Linked DNA regions of Homo sapiens: region 2 is linked to region 1. Evidence: promoter capture Hi-C in human tissues and cell types (Jung and others, 2019). All regions are on one chromosome and are shown on one strand. Each heading gives the region's core, a stretch centred on a gene start or on the middle of the fragment in contact. The rest is flanking DNA. Distances are from core to core; before and after follow the strand shown.

Region 1 (7,373 bases), core at 2,575-5,074:
CACCCGCCTCGGCCTCCCAAAATGCTGGGATTACAGGCATGAACCACCGCGCCCGGCCAGCAATGAATTTACTTTCTTTCCCTGTGTGCTTGCTTGCTTCCTTTCTTGTAATATAATAGGCAGGGTTTTCTGGTGTTTGTGTTAGAAAAGGTTCCCAGCCAGGCGCGGTGGCTCATGCCTGTAATCCTAGCACTTTGGGACGCCAACGCAGGAGGATCCCTTGAGCTTAGGAGTTTGAGACCAGCCTGGACAACACAGGGAGACCCTGTCTCTATTTTATGTAACTACATTTAAAAGATAAAAATAAAAAAAGTTTTTAAAACGTTCCATACTAGCTCAGTCTGACGTTGGAACCAGAAGTGTTTTTATACATAAAGGGCACATCCTGATGATTTCCCTAAAAATCTGCAGACAGTCTCAATGGTGAATGAAACTCTATTGTAGGAACAGAATGGTGTGGGCTGCTTAGAAACAACAGTTTTCTTTTGTTTGTTTGTTTTACATACAGGGTCTTGTTCTATTGCCCAGGTTGGAGTGCAGTGGTATGATCACAGCTCACTGCAGCCTTGACTTCCTGGGCTCAAGCAATCCTCCCATCTCAGCCTCCCAAGTAGCCAGGACTATAGGCATGTGCCATCACACCCAACTAATTTTTAATTTTTTTGTAGAGACTGGAGGGGGTCTGTCATTGATACAGGAGTGGGGCAGGGAAGTGCTGGGTAGAGAAAGGCAGGGTCCCTGGTGAGGGCCCCACCCATGGACCCAGGTGAAGACAGGCACTCCTGTTTTTGTGCCCAAATGTTGCATTTTCCAAGACCACTCTGGCCCGCACACCCCCCATCTTGTGCCTATATAAACCCCAATACCCTAGTGGGCACACATACAAATGGCTGGATATGGAGAGGAACACATCAGAAGAACACACGGACGCTGACAGGCCATCAACTGCAGAAGGATGCGGATGCCTAGGGAAATTCAGCTGAGGGTGGTTGAAGGAGAGCCAGGCAACTCCAGGGGAAGACCACCTTCCCACTCCATTCCCCTTCTGTTTCCCCATACATCTGCTGAGAGCAACCTCCACCATTCAATAAAACCTTGCACTCATTCTCCAAGCCCATGTGTAATCTGATTTTTCCAGTACACTAGGGCAAGAACCCAGGATACAGAAAACTCTCTGTCCTTTCAATAAGGCAGAGGGTCTAATTGAGCTGATTAAAACGAGCTGTCTACGGACGGCTAAACTGAAGAGCACACAGTAACACACGTCTACTGAGGCTTCGGGAGCTGTAAATACTCAACCCTAGATGCTGCTGTGGGGTTGGAGCCCACGCTCCCCACTACCTGCCCGTCTGTATGCTCCCCCTAGGGTTTGAGTTGCAGGGCACTGAGGAAGCAAGCCACTCCCCCGCTGTCACACACCCTGCTAGGGGGATAAGGGAACTTTTCTTGTTTCATTACTATGTTGACCAGGCTGGTCTTGAACTCCTGGCGTCAAGCAATCCTCCCACGTTGGCATAAGTGCTGGGATTACAGGTGTGAGCCACTATGCCTGGCGTAAACAACAGTCTTCTCAGTGCTTTGACTCATCAATATTTCAAAATATTTTGGGTCCATGCTTGAGCAGGGGGTTAACATGGAGAAGACAATGGGGGCTGTGAACTTGTGAAGAGGGGGCTATCACTTGAGGGGAGGACTGGACTTGCTTACTTGCTCCTGAAGGCAGACTGGTACTGGAAGGGGAAACTCTGGCTTCATGAGGCAGAAACTTCTCCAAATCATATTAACGTGGTAGCAGCTCTTCACCCCAGGATTTGGTGATCTTGATACCTGGTTTGTTTGTTTGACCCCTGTTCAAGCCAACAAGCCAGGTATCAAGACCACAAAAATACAGTTTTTTTCTTGGGTGAGGAGAGAGATTTTTTGTTTGTTTAGACAGGATTTCTCTCTGTTGCCCAGGCTGGAGTGCAGTGGCTCACTCATGGCCCACTTCAGCCTTGAGCTCCTGGACTCAAGCGACCCTCTCACCTCAGCCTCCCTAGTAGCTAGGGAGGACTACAGTTATGCGCCACCACACCCAGCTAATTTTTTTTTTTTTTTTTTTGTAGAGACAGGATTTTGCCATGTTGCCCAGGCTGGTCTCAAACTCCTGGGCTCAAGCAATCCTCCCACCTCAGCCTCCCAAAGTGCCGGGATTACAGGCGTGAGGCACAAAAATACTGTCGATAGCCAGAAAAATAATGTCTTAGCAACTCACATCCATGTTAGTTGTTTGTTTCTAGGTCTTGCTAGCTCAAATTCCACTTATCCGTCTTAATCACCATCTAAAAGATGCCTTTGTTTTTGAGAATCCATGTGTTTGTGTAGGTTCACCACTTTCTTTTAATCTTCTGAATACCTAAAATAAACCTTTGAAATCTAGATCACGCACAGTCTAGGTTGAGATGAGAGAATACTGAGCGGATGGTTGTGTATGTATCAATGTGTAGAAAAAGGCATCCATCGTTATGGCAACCAGCATCCTTAACTGATGCAATCCTGTTCCCAATAATATGAGATGTGATTAAAAATTGACATTGCAGCAAGGAAGAACACATGCAATGCGTTGGCGTGGCAACCGGAATAGTTAAATTCTGCATAAATTTAAACCTGTCGATCACAGCAATTTGGAGAATTTGCCTACATTTCATTAGGAACCCTTTTCTCATCTGGCCTGGGAGGGAATCAGGAGCCTGGTGGTCTGACATGTGGCCATGACTTAAGGCCAAGTAAAATCAAGGGATTAAATTAAATCATTGGTGTGGGAGAGGGGCTGGATGGTGGACTGTACCAAAAGTTACCCTGTTTTCATCTGCATACCCTACATCATTTAGTCACTCAACAGATATTTATTAAGCACCCACTCTGTGCCCCGCTCTGGGCTAGGTACTAGGAATACAAAAACTAATATTTCCTACCCTCTTGGAGCTTGAAACCTCTTAGCCTCTGGAATTACTCAAATCTATGTGAAGTGCCAGCTGTGGTATGTGTAAGCGAGACAGGTATCTTGTGTTACCAGAACCAATAACAAGGAGATTTGATTAATTAGAGAGATCAGGTGGAGGCGAAGAGATCAGTCAAAGTGAAGCAGAGAGGGGCAGTGATTGCTACACCACCACAGGAACCCAAACTGAAAACGACCATACGCCATGAAGTGGGTGATAGTCTTTACCAATGTCGAAATGGAGGACCTGGGGGATACTGATGTTACCCAGCCCTTCGCAGTGGGGTCACCCAAAAGTAGACGCGGCTAATGCCGCTCTTTATGCCCGGCAGGGCCAGGACCAGAGTCCCCGCACGAGGGTTCCTCTCTCCGGTCGCACGTGCCCTTCACCCTTCCTGAGGCCGTTTTCTGACGCTCCTGAGCTCCCCTCCAGGGTGAGGGCAGGCGCGGTGGGAAGGCGTTGGACAGAGCAGACACTCGGCTGGGGTGCATGCCTGGGTGCAGCCTCGTCTTTTGTCACTAACCACTCAGCTCGGTAGCCCTCCAGGCTCTCTCTTCGAGCTCCGCGGTCCCTGCGCCCCCGCTGCGCTCTGCTAGCTGTGATGCAGGGGTTCGGGGGCAGGAAAAATCTCGACCCGCCACGCCCGTGCGGCAAACCTGTCCTAGGTTGAGGGGGCATGAGGCGCGCACAACCAGGGCCTCGAAGGCAGGCAAGAGGGCGCGGGCGCCACAGAAGCCTGGGCCTGCGCCTGGGCCGGGCAGATGTGCCCGGCGCTCGGGCCCCGCGCTCTGCGTCCTGCAGGGAGGCGGACCCGCCCCCCGAACGCGCAGGCGCGCGGCGCCCGGCTCGGACCGTAGCTAGGCGCTGGGCGGCCACCGGCTGGCCAGGCAGGTAAGCAACCAGCGGTGCGTGGGCTCAGACCTTGCGTCCCCTGGGCGCCGCGCCACCCCGCTCCGTCCAGGGCGGCGAGGGCTCAGGTCTGCGGCCCCGGCGTCTCGCTCCTTCCGAGCGCCTCCGGCGGGGGGCGCGGGCTGGGGAGGAGGTTCGGGAAAACGCCGGGGAAAGCGGTCTGGGCGGAGCGCGCAGGGGGCCAGGCGGGTGCGGGACTCCAGGCCCAGCCGACCCTGCGGCGTGGCTTCGGGCTGCGATCAGGAGGGGCGAGGAGGGTGGAGGCTGCGTGTTTGGAGATACGCAATCAATTAAGAGTTTTTTTATTAATGGAAAGGTGTGGAGGGCGGGGTTTTGGTTTTCTTGGGAAATGAATGAGTCATTTGGCAAACTTTCCTACCATTAATTTTGGATTTTTATAATGGAATATGGAATTTTTTTTGTTTCTCTCTCTTTTTTTTTTTTTGGCCATAAAGAGAAAGAATAAAAAGAATTCCGCCATTTTAGCGTTTTAAAAAGTAACCGTTCTGCGGAACTGTCGGATCAGTGACCGCCCCGCCCGCCTTTGCCTATACCAGTCCCGGGAGGCTGGTGGCGGGTCCCGATCCTGGAACCCTGCGCTCAGGGCCGCTTCCGTCCCCTCCCGAGTCCGGGAAGCAGCTGCGGCGAGGGGCGGGGCCGAGGCCCCAAGTTTGTAGCGCTCAGCCTTGCTGTGTGTTGTTTTCTGGGTAGCTGTCGAGGGCTCTACTCCCCACCCAACACCTATAGTAAGGACATTTATTGGTCGTTTTTGTATACAAGGCCTTGGAAGGCAAGGGATTGAGAAAACCTTGTCAGACATCAAGAGAAAATACCCATGGACACATTCAGCCAACAGATATTTATTGAGCATCTGCTATGTGCACGGCTCTGGGCTGGGGCTACAATGGTTGTTTTAGGTCGGGTCCCCCGAAACAGACTCCGATAGCAAGATTTGAGTGTAGGTTTATCGGAGTGCTCTTGCGAATATCACCAGTAGGGGAATGACGGGTTGGGCGGAAGAAGAAGCTGAACTGCTGATGTAGTCTCAACAGAGGCCTCAGCCTGACCTAATGGAAGCTCTGGAACTGAGATGGCCCTGCAGAGGTGTTCCAAAGTAAGGCAAGGGGGTGGGGTCTTTACACCTCATAGCAACTCGTCATTGGCTGGCGGCTTCTAGGAGAGCCTTCAAGTGAGGTAGCTCCCTAGGCTCAGAGCAGTTCCAAGAGAGGCTGACGGCAGAAGGCTGAAAACTTTCTTCAGTGTCCACCAGAAACCCAGACTCTTCTGAGTCCCCCCTCACTTCATGGCAGACTCCTTCTCAGTCCCTTTTGCTAGACCCTTTTCCTCTTCCCAACCTATAAATGTGGGTGTGCTCCAAAGTTCCCACTTTTTTCTTTATACTCAGTTATGTGGTTTTTTCTTTTTTCTTTCTTTCTCTCTCTCTCCTTCCTTCCTTCCTCCCCTCCCCTCCCCTTTCTCTCTGACAGGGTCTTGCTCTGTCGCCCAGGCTCGAGTGTAGTGGTGTGATCATAGCTCACTGCAGCCTTTACCTCCCAGGCTCAAGCAACCCTCCCACCTCAGCCTCCCCAGTAGCTGGGACCACAGGGGTGCACCACCATGTTCAGCTAATTTTTAAAATCTTTTGTTGAGGCTGAGGCCTCACTATGTTGGCCATGCTGGTCTCAAACTCCTGGGCTCAAGTGATCCTCCCACCTTGGCCTCCCAAAGTGCTAGGATTACAGGCATGAGCCACCAGGCCTCGCCCCAGTTCTGTGGTTTTAAATGCCATCTACACATGCTGGTCTTCAAATTTATACCTCCAGCCCCAACCTCATCCATTATCTCCAGAATATAAGCTTCATGAGAGCATTTTGTCATGTTTGTGACTGTAACCCCAGAGCACAGAATGGTGGTGACACCTACTTGGTCCTCCCATGCTTGCTGGAAAAGAGGCAGCGAACCCAAACAGAAACGTAGTCTTCAAATCCAGCTTCTTCAATAGACCTGAGATGTGACAGGTTTTGACACAGAGTGAAATTCTTTCAGAAGTAACCACATTCACTCTTAACTGCCAGTGTTTCAAATAAAAAGATTAACTCTATTTATTTATTTATTTATTGAGACAGGGTCTCATTTTGTCACTCAGGCTGGAGTGCAGTGGCGCGATCTTGGCTCACTGCAACCTCCACCTCCTGGGTTCAAGGGATTCTCCTGCCTCAGCCTCCTGAGTAGCTGGGATAACAGGCGTGTGCCACCATGCCCAGCTAAATTTTTGTACTTTTGGTAGAGATGGAGTTTCAACATGTTGTCCAGGCTGGTTTTGAACTCCTGGCCTCAAGTGATTGGCCTCCCAAAGTGTTGGGATTACAGGTGTGAGCCACCACGCATGGCCTGCCTGGCTAACTTTTGTACTTTTTGTAGAGATGGGGTTTCACCATGTTGCCCAGGCTGGTCTCCAACTCCTGAGCTCAAAGCGATCCACCCACCTTGGCCTCCCAAAGTGCTGGGATTATAGGCGTGAGCCACCACGTCCAGCCTAACTCTAAAGGTATTTAAAATAGTACAAGTACTTCAGCTGTGCAAAGCAAATTGGAATTGAAATTCAGGGAATTATGTTTTATAATTTTCTTTCTTTCTTTCTTTCTTTTTTTTTTTTTTTTGAGGTGGAGTCTTATTCTGTTGCCCAGGCTGGAGTGCAGTGGCATGATCTTGGCTTACCGCAACCTCCACCTCCTGGGTTCAAGCAATTCTCCTGCCTCAGCCTCCCAAATAGCTGGGATTACAGGCGCCTGCCACCACACCTGGCTATTTTTTTTTTATTTTTTTGTGTTTTTAGTAGCAATGGGGTTTCACCATGTTGGTCAGACTGGTCTTGAACTCCTGACCTCAGGTGATCTACCCACCTCGGCTTCCCAAAGTGCTGGGATTAGAGGCGTGAGCCACTGCGCCCAGCTAATTTTTTTTTTTTCTTTAGAGACAGGGTCTCGCTCTGTCACCTAGACCGGAGTACAGTGGTGAGATCATGGCTCACTGCAGCCTTGACCTCCCGGGCTCAAGCAATCCTCCTGCCTCAGCCTCTGGAGTAGTTGGGACTACAGGCATATACTGCAACACCTGGCTTATTTTTATTTTTTAATTTTTTATAGAGACAGAGTCTCCCTGTGTTGCCTAGGCTGGTCTTGAACTCTTGGGCTCAAGCAGTCCTCCCACCTCAGCCTCCAGAGTACTGGGATTACAGGTGTGAGCCACTGCATTGGGCCCATACAGTGTTTTTTTGTTTTGGTTTTGGTTTTTGGTTTTTGAGATGGAGTCTTGCTCTGTCTCCCAGGCTGGAGTACAGTGGGACGATCTCGGCTCACTGCAACCTCTACCCTCCACCTCCCGGGTTCAAGCGATTCTCCTGCCTCAGCCTCCCCAGTAGCTGGGATTACAGGCACATGGCACCAAGCCGGCCCCATACACTGTTTTTTATTAACAAGTTCA
Region 2 (7,373 bases), core at 1,517-4,016, 1.8 Mb before region 1:
CGTGGGGGTCCCAAGTGGGACTGGAACCACCGCGAAAGAGGCGGGGCTGCGCGGATCTTCCACACCAGCTCCTCCCTTCCGTCAGGGGGTGCTGCGCATGAACGTTTTCCCATCTCTACCTCTTGGTTATCCCTCAGCAGAGATTCTTCTTTTACTCTGTACAGTTTTCAGCATCCCTCAAGCTGATATTTCAATTAAACAAATTTTAGAATTCTGAGAAATGGCGAAATAATGTAAAAGAAACAAATGATATTGGCCCTAAATTATCCTCCAGCCCCTGCTGCTCATCGGACACTTTATGAGGTTACAAAGGACCATGGCGCTGCGCATATGGGGGATCCATTTTACCCACCGTACTTAGATCAGGCTGTGACTTCCGCCCTCGAGGAGCGGCTGCTGCTCTACCGGGTGTGCTCATTTAGCCCTAGCGTTGTTTGTGCGTTTGAGGACATTCGCTGAGCCAAGCTGCAAGGGTGTCGTTATCATTTTACGAGGGGAATACGGAGAGCATGGTGGATAAAAGGTGGTTGACCTGCCCAGGCTATACAGCTAGAAGTGCCGTTAGAACTTGGTACAGGTGGAACTGATTCTGATACTTGTCTCAAACTGTTACCAGTGGAGGGTGTTCAGGTTCTTGGTGTCTTGAACAAATAATTGGACAAAACGGCACAAACAAAGCAAGGGAATAATGAAGTAACAAAAGCAGAGATTTATTGAAAACGAAAGTACATTTCACAGGGTGGGAGCAGGCTGAGCATGGGGGCTCACGAGCGCTGTTATAGAATTTTCTGGGGGTTAAATACCCTCTAGAGGTTTCCATTGGTTAGTTGGTGTATGCCTTATGTAAATGAATAGGTTAAAAGTTACAAAGGCATTGTATGCCCTATGTAAATAAAGAGGATATTTCGGCGGGGAGTTGTGGCTTACACCTGTAATCCCAGCACTTTGGGAGGCCAAGGCGGGCGGATCACCTGAGGTCAGGAATTCGAGACCAGCCTGGTCAGCATGGTGAAACCCCATCTCTACTAAAAATAAAAATAAAAATAAATTAGCTGGGCGTGGTGGCATGCGCCTGTAATCCCCTGGTGGCTGAGGCAGGAGAATCACTTGAACCGGGCAGAGGTCACAGTGAGCCGAGATCGCGCCGTTGCACTCCAGCCTGGGCGACAGAACAAGACTCAAATAAATAATAAATAAATAAATAAAAAGGATGTGTCTTATCATAGCTGAAGTGTTTCATTTGATTTAATTCTAGCAAGTCCTTAAGTTCCCTGCCTCCAGGCCATATTCTGCCTCAAGACCTATCCTGTTTACTTCGTGTAGCATTAGTTTCTTTTTCCCAGGTTTGCTGCTACTTACTTGGTTAAGCCATGATCATCTCGGCTGTACTCACAGTCTCATAAATCCGGTGTTTATTGAGTGTTAGCACCGTGCCAGGCAGTGTGTTGAGTGCTGGGACATGGTGTTGAACAGGGGCAGACACAACCTTACCTTCATGGTGTTTACAGCCTAATGGGGAAGACAGTTACTGATCACATAATACAAATAAGAATAAAATGTCAAATTGCGATAAATAGAACACCCCCACCCCCAGGATGCTACAAGAGAGAATAATGGAGGAAAATTGATACATTAGATTGATTAGGGAAAGAAAGAAATGTTTGGTCTGAAATGCTTGAAGAAGGCTGAGAAGAAGGAAGCTGTGTAACAGCCAAGAGAAGAGTAGTCCAGGCAGAGGGATCAGCAAGTGCAAAGGCTCTGAGCGGGGAAGAGCTTGGTGTTTTGCAATTCAAGGAACTCAGAGAAGTCCCTTGTGATTGGAACACAGTGAAGTAGGGGAGAGTGGAACAAATTGAGACTGGCTTTCCTTTTACCAGTCTTGCCTCTTCTTTTCTTTTCTTTTTTTTGAGACAGAGTTTCACTCTTGTTGCCCAGGCTGGAGTGTAGTGGCACAATCTTGGCTCACCGCAACCTCCACCTCCCAGGTTCAAGCGATTCTCCTGCCTCAGCCTCATGAGTAGCTGGGATTATAGGCATGCGCCACCACGTCCGGCTAATTTTGTATTTTTAGTAGAGACGGGGTTTCTCCATGTTGGTCAGGCTGGTCTCAAACTCTTGACCTCAGGTGATCCACCCGCCGGGCCTCCCAAAGTGCTGGGATTACAGGTGTGAGCCACTGCACCCAGCCTAGTCTTGCCTCTTCTAAACCATATCCACACTGGCAGTATAGGAATATTTTCAGTACTCAAATATGATGACTTGACTTTCCTTTAGAGGCTTTGTGTCCCCTACAAGTTTTAGCTCAAACTCCTCAGCACAGTGCTCAGAGACCTTCGTAATTGGATTTACCTCACTTTCCAGTCTTCCTTTTTTGCAAGTTCTGTTATCTCTGCTTGGCATGCCCTCTCCTATGTGCTTGCTGATCAGGCAAACTTCTATTCACACTTTGTCTTGGCTGAAATATCATCACCTCTGTGCTCTCCTTGTGCACTCTCAATTCACTTCTTGTCCCCCTGCTGTGTAACTACTGGTTTGCCTACCAGTCTTTCCCAAGAGACAGTGAGCTCCTCCTCTTGGGGATGTGTTTTCTATCTTTGTATGATGCAGAACACAAGGCCTGGCAGTTGCTCTTTTCTTTCTTTCTTTTCTTTTTTTTTTTTTTTGAGACGGATTCTTGCTCTGTCGCCCAGGCTGGAGTCCAGTGCAATGTCGGCTCACTGCAACCTCCGCCTCCCGGGTTCAAGTGATTCTCCTGCCTCAGCCTCCCAAGTAGCTGGATTACAGGCATGCGCTACCACGCCCAGCTAATTTTTTGTATTTAGTAGAGATGGGGTTTCACCATGTTGGTCAGGCTGGTCTCAAACTCCTGAACTCAGGTGACCCAAAGTGCTGGGATTACAGATGTGAGCCACCACACCTGGCCATTGCTGTTTTCATAACAAATATTCATTAAGAGAATGAGTGGAACAGCTAGCCATGACTAGCCTCCACTTGTCACCTGATGAGAAGGTGACATGTGGTTCTTATCCTTGGCAGAGTGGAAATTAGCATCCAAAAGGACGCAAGAAGAGATGAGTAAAAAATCTACACTTACCCATGAGCCAGATACTGTCTCATCCACTGTCTCATTTAATCTTTGTGACAATCATAGTTCTCAGTTTTTGCTGCTAAGAAAACTGGTGCCCAAAGGCTCTGCCTAAAGATTACCCAACTAGTAATGGAGAACCTCGGTAGGAAATTGGGTCTTTCTGATCTCAAAGGTTGAGCCCCTCAATATTCCTTCTGTTCTTTTTGCCCCATCTGGCACCCGTTACTAGCACAGAAGCCCGGAAAGTTTAAGAAACAACTTCTGTCTCTGGTGTGTCATTTGTACCTCTGAGGACATCAACTTGGAACAGCCATTGTACCAGAGTTCTGTCTTTTCCAGGAATCAGTGACTCATATCAGTCTCTGCTGATATCAGCTGCTGAAGGGCTTAGGAGAACTGGTAGGACTCAGAGGAGCAGAAAATCCAGGAAAGGGCACTCTTGGCCAGTGCTGTTTAATAGAACTCTTTCAGATGAGTAAAATGTTCCATATTTGTGCTTTCCAGTATGGGAATGTCTCAAGTTCCTTTTTAGACAGTATCTCCAGCCCCCTCATTGGTTCCTGACTTCAGGCTGTTTCCAAGACATTCAACTTGAGACTACAGATCCCTGGGCTAGGTCTTCAAGGGCCCTCCAGATCCAAGCTATGCCTCAGTTTTAGCTGAAGTTGTGTCCAAGAACACAGGTCAGGGTACAGGGAGATGGGATACGTATAGCTCCAGACATGGCCAGTGCATTGTTGATATTGCCACCCCAGCAAACTGCCTAGAACTTGGCCCAGAGCAGATGCTAGGTTAACATGGTAGATGAGTGAATTTACTTTCTCTTCCCCAGATTGGGGCTCCCTCACCTACTGCCATTGGCTTCTGGAATCCTTCTCTATCATTGTGAACTGATGACTTGCCACATGGTGAAGATTAACGAAGCCAGTGCTTTGAACCACCACCCTGACATTTTGGGGGTAGGTCAGGGGGGTAGCTACAAAACCAGCTAGTAATAATTCATTGAAAATATGCTGGATCCAGCATTTTTATGTAATGACCTCATTTTTCTTGTGAAACCCTGTGTGCAAAATGAAAGCCCAAATGAGCATCTGCTATATACAGTTAGGAGTAGGGTGGTGCTGGGGAAAGAGGACTGATCTAGGAGTTACCCTGGACCTGGGGCTCATAGGCTGTATGACCTTGAACAAGATGCTCAATGCTTCTGTGCCCCAGTTTTCTCTCAAGTAAAATAAAAACATTGGACTCTAAGCTTCTTTCTACAGTTAATGTGAATGTTTAAAAAATGGCTGGTCACATCTGTGATCAACCTACATTAAGCACCTTTCAAGTGATTACTTGCTTCAATTAGGTCCATTTTCATTGTTTACTTTTACTAACAGTTTTTTTTCTTAACCCTTCCACTTCCAGTGCCTTCCTCATTCTTCACTATTTTTTGATTGTTTCTTCAGATTCTGATAAATCATCTTCATTTCCAGCCATTGAATCACCTGCTCCTTGGCCCTGCCTAGAGGCTCTTTAATCCTCAGCAGTTTCAATTTCCTGACAAAGCACACAGAGGGGGCCCGGTCTCCCTCCTCTTCCCTTGCCCACTACTCACCACTCTCCCATCTAAAACACATCTGAAAAATCAGGGAGGTTTCTATTCTGGCAGTTGTCTCTCTCACCACTAGATGGCACATGCAGGTCATCAGTCTTTTGGGCAAAAACTAATTTTATTGTGTATTTAAACTCCATCTCAATCCACAAAAGCTTTGAGGGGAATTACAAAAGTACAAAATATACAAAAGGATAAGACAAAAAGTTGAGGTAGCTGGAGAAAATAGAAAACAAGTGGAAGAAATAACTCCAGGATGACATTAGCTCAAAAAGATCAACACCAGCAAAGGCTTACACATTTGGCTCCGAGCTTCCAAATGGCCAAAGTAAAGAGGGAAATGTGAGTGGTAATAAAATTCTAGATTTTATGTGAGAAAAACAAATATTTGGGAGAAGCTCAACTTTTCCTGACCCTGAGACCAAAGAGATATTTTTCCCGTGGGTCAGCTGACTGAACAGTGATGCAATACAGCGGTGACTTAATTGGAGCTGTTTCTTATAATGTCCTTTTATGCAGGCCTATGGCATGACGCTCAAGTATAATTGAGGAAAAGCAGTTCTACTGGGCTTAAAACATGAGTTTCCAGGACAGAGTAAATTCACTGTTTGTTGTGGGCCTCCGTAGTTTGAAACAGTGAAATCTGCACACCTCCCTGTTCCAGAGTTTAGGTGGAGTTTGGGGGAGAGGGGGTTCTTCTTGGAGACTGTGGTAAGCAGTTTCTAAGAGGGCCACCAATGATCCTGCCTCCTGGTTTTCAAACCCTATCTGGTCCCCTCCCATGTAGCAGCAGTAATGGTCTGTGTCACCAGCAGAATGCAGGAGAAGCAGGGCCGGGCATAGTGGCTTATGCCTATAATCCCAGCACTTTGGGAGGCCGAGGCAGGAGGATTGCTTGAGCCCAGGAATTAGAGACCAGCCTGGACAACAAAATGAGACCTCGTCTCTACAAAAAATACAAAAACTAGCCAGGCATGGTGGTGTGAGTCTGTAGTCCCAGATACTACGGAGGCTGAGGCGGGATAATTGCTTAAGCCCAGGAGGTTGAGGCTGCAGTGAGCTGTGTTCATGCCATTGCACTCCAGCCTGGGTGACAGAGCAAGACCCTGTCTCGAACAAACAAACAAAAACAAAAACACCCCACCAAAAACAGAATACAGGAGAAATTATGGTATGTCACTTCTCAGATCAGGTTAAAATACATCATAGCTTCTCTCTTGGTCTCTCTGTCTCTGGTTTTGTCTCTCTCTTTCTGTCATGCTAGGGAAAGCCAGGTGCCATGTCATTAGGAGTCTTGAGAGACCCATGTAGTAGAGAACTGAGCCTACTGTCAACAGCCAGTGTCACCTTATTAGTCATGTCAGAGTACCACCTTGGGAGCAGATCCTCCAGCCTCAGTCGAGTCTTCAGAGACTAAATCCCTGGCTAACACCTTAATGGCAAGAAACCTCATGAGAGACCATGAGCCAGGCCATTCAGCTAAGTCACACCTTGGCTCTATGAGATAATAAATGCTTGTTATTTTAAGCTGTTAAGTTTTGGTATAATTTGTTAAGCAACAATAGATGACTAATACAAAGGCCAATAGAAATCCAAGGTTGCATCAAGGATAATTTTACATGGGTAAGTCTACTTGGTTTCAGAGACCAAGAGAATATTTCAGAAGCAACTCAAGTGGGCATTATTTTTAACTTTTAGTTTAATTTAATTTAATTTTTTAAAAGACAAGTCAAATTTCACAGTGGGGCGTTGCATAGCAATCTTAGTGACACTAATGTTAATAAATTTGGATGACGTACTACCCTTGGACCAGCCCATGGGGGCTTCAAGTCTGATAGATATGGGCTCATATTCAGTCTGTGAATGTAGAAAGACAGAGGTAGAGGGATCCATGTAAAATGTCTGCAAAGGAGATTTCTCTGAAGAAGGACTGTGGGGGCAAGGACTTCAACTTCCTTATTCATGGTGACATCATCGGTGCCTAGCACAGAACCTGGCACGTGGTAGGCTTTCTACAAATCTTTCTTTTCTTTTTCTTTCTTTTTTTTTTTTTTTTGAGACACAGTTTTGCTCTGTTGCCCAGGCTGGAGTGCAATCTTGGCTCACTGCAACCTCTGCCTCCTGGATTCAAGTGATTCTCCTGACTCAGCCTCCTGAGTAGCTGGGACTACAGGCACACGCCACCACGCCTGGATAATTTTTGTATCTTTAGTAGAGACAGGGTTTCACCATGTTGGCCAGGATGGTCTTGATCTCCTGATCTCATGATCCACCCGCCTTGGCCTCCCAAAGTGCTGGGATTACAGGCATGAGCCACCCCGCCCGGCCTACAAATATTTCTTTGATGAATCTATGAGTGGTGAGCTACAACCTTGAGTGAGCTATTCATGTATCTGGGTAACCATCATTTATTAAGCTCCTACCATGTGCCATGTACACGATGTTGGTTAAGTCCCAGGGAACTTTTGTGTCATATACAGATTCAAATCCACTTTGTGCCCCCCACTGCACCTTCTCTCACCCTGTGTTTTCTCCTTGAAACTCTTTATTATTATTACTATTTTTTCTTTTTTTTTTTGAGACGGAGTCTCACTCTGTTGCCCAGGCTGGAGTGCAGTGGTGTGATATCGGCTCACTGCAAGCTCCGCCTCCTGGGCTCACGCCGTTCTCCTGCCTCAGCCTCCCAGG

What was found. Contacts are between HindIII fragments. The study calls those that stand out against the background at their distance.
Region 2: a fragment that was not itself captured here is called in contact with the fragment with the promoter of L3MBTL1 in region 1 in 1 of the 25 tissues and cell types used here (dorsolateral prefrontal cortex).

What each region holds. Positions count from the first base shown.
Region 1 is chr20:43,503,873-43,511,245 of GRCh38, forward strand. L3MBTL1 (L3MBTL histone methyl-lysine binding protein 1) reads left to right here and starts at 3,825. Exons shown (of 22, transcript NM_001377303.1): 1 at 3,825-3,872. RefSeq lists a silencer at 3,706-4,035. The HindIII fragment of the contact is 9,495 bases long and covers 1-7,005 here.
Region 2 is chr20:41,693,217-41,700,589 of GRCh38, forward strand. It overlaps LOC124904905 (a long non-coding RNA gene), which reads right to left and starts at 959. Exons shown (of 2, transcript XR_007067588.1): 1 at 120-959. RefSeq lists enhancers at 104-323, 544-783 and a silencer at 5,994-6,288. The HindIII fragment of the contact is 3,648 bases long and covers 943-4,590 here.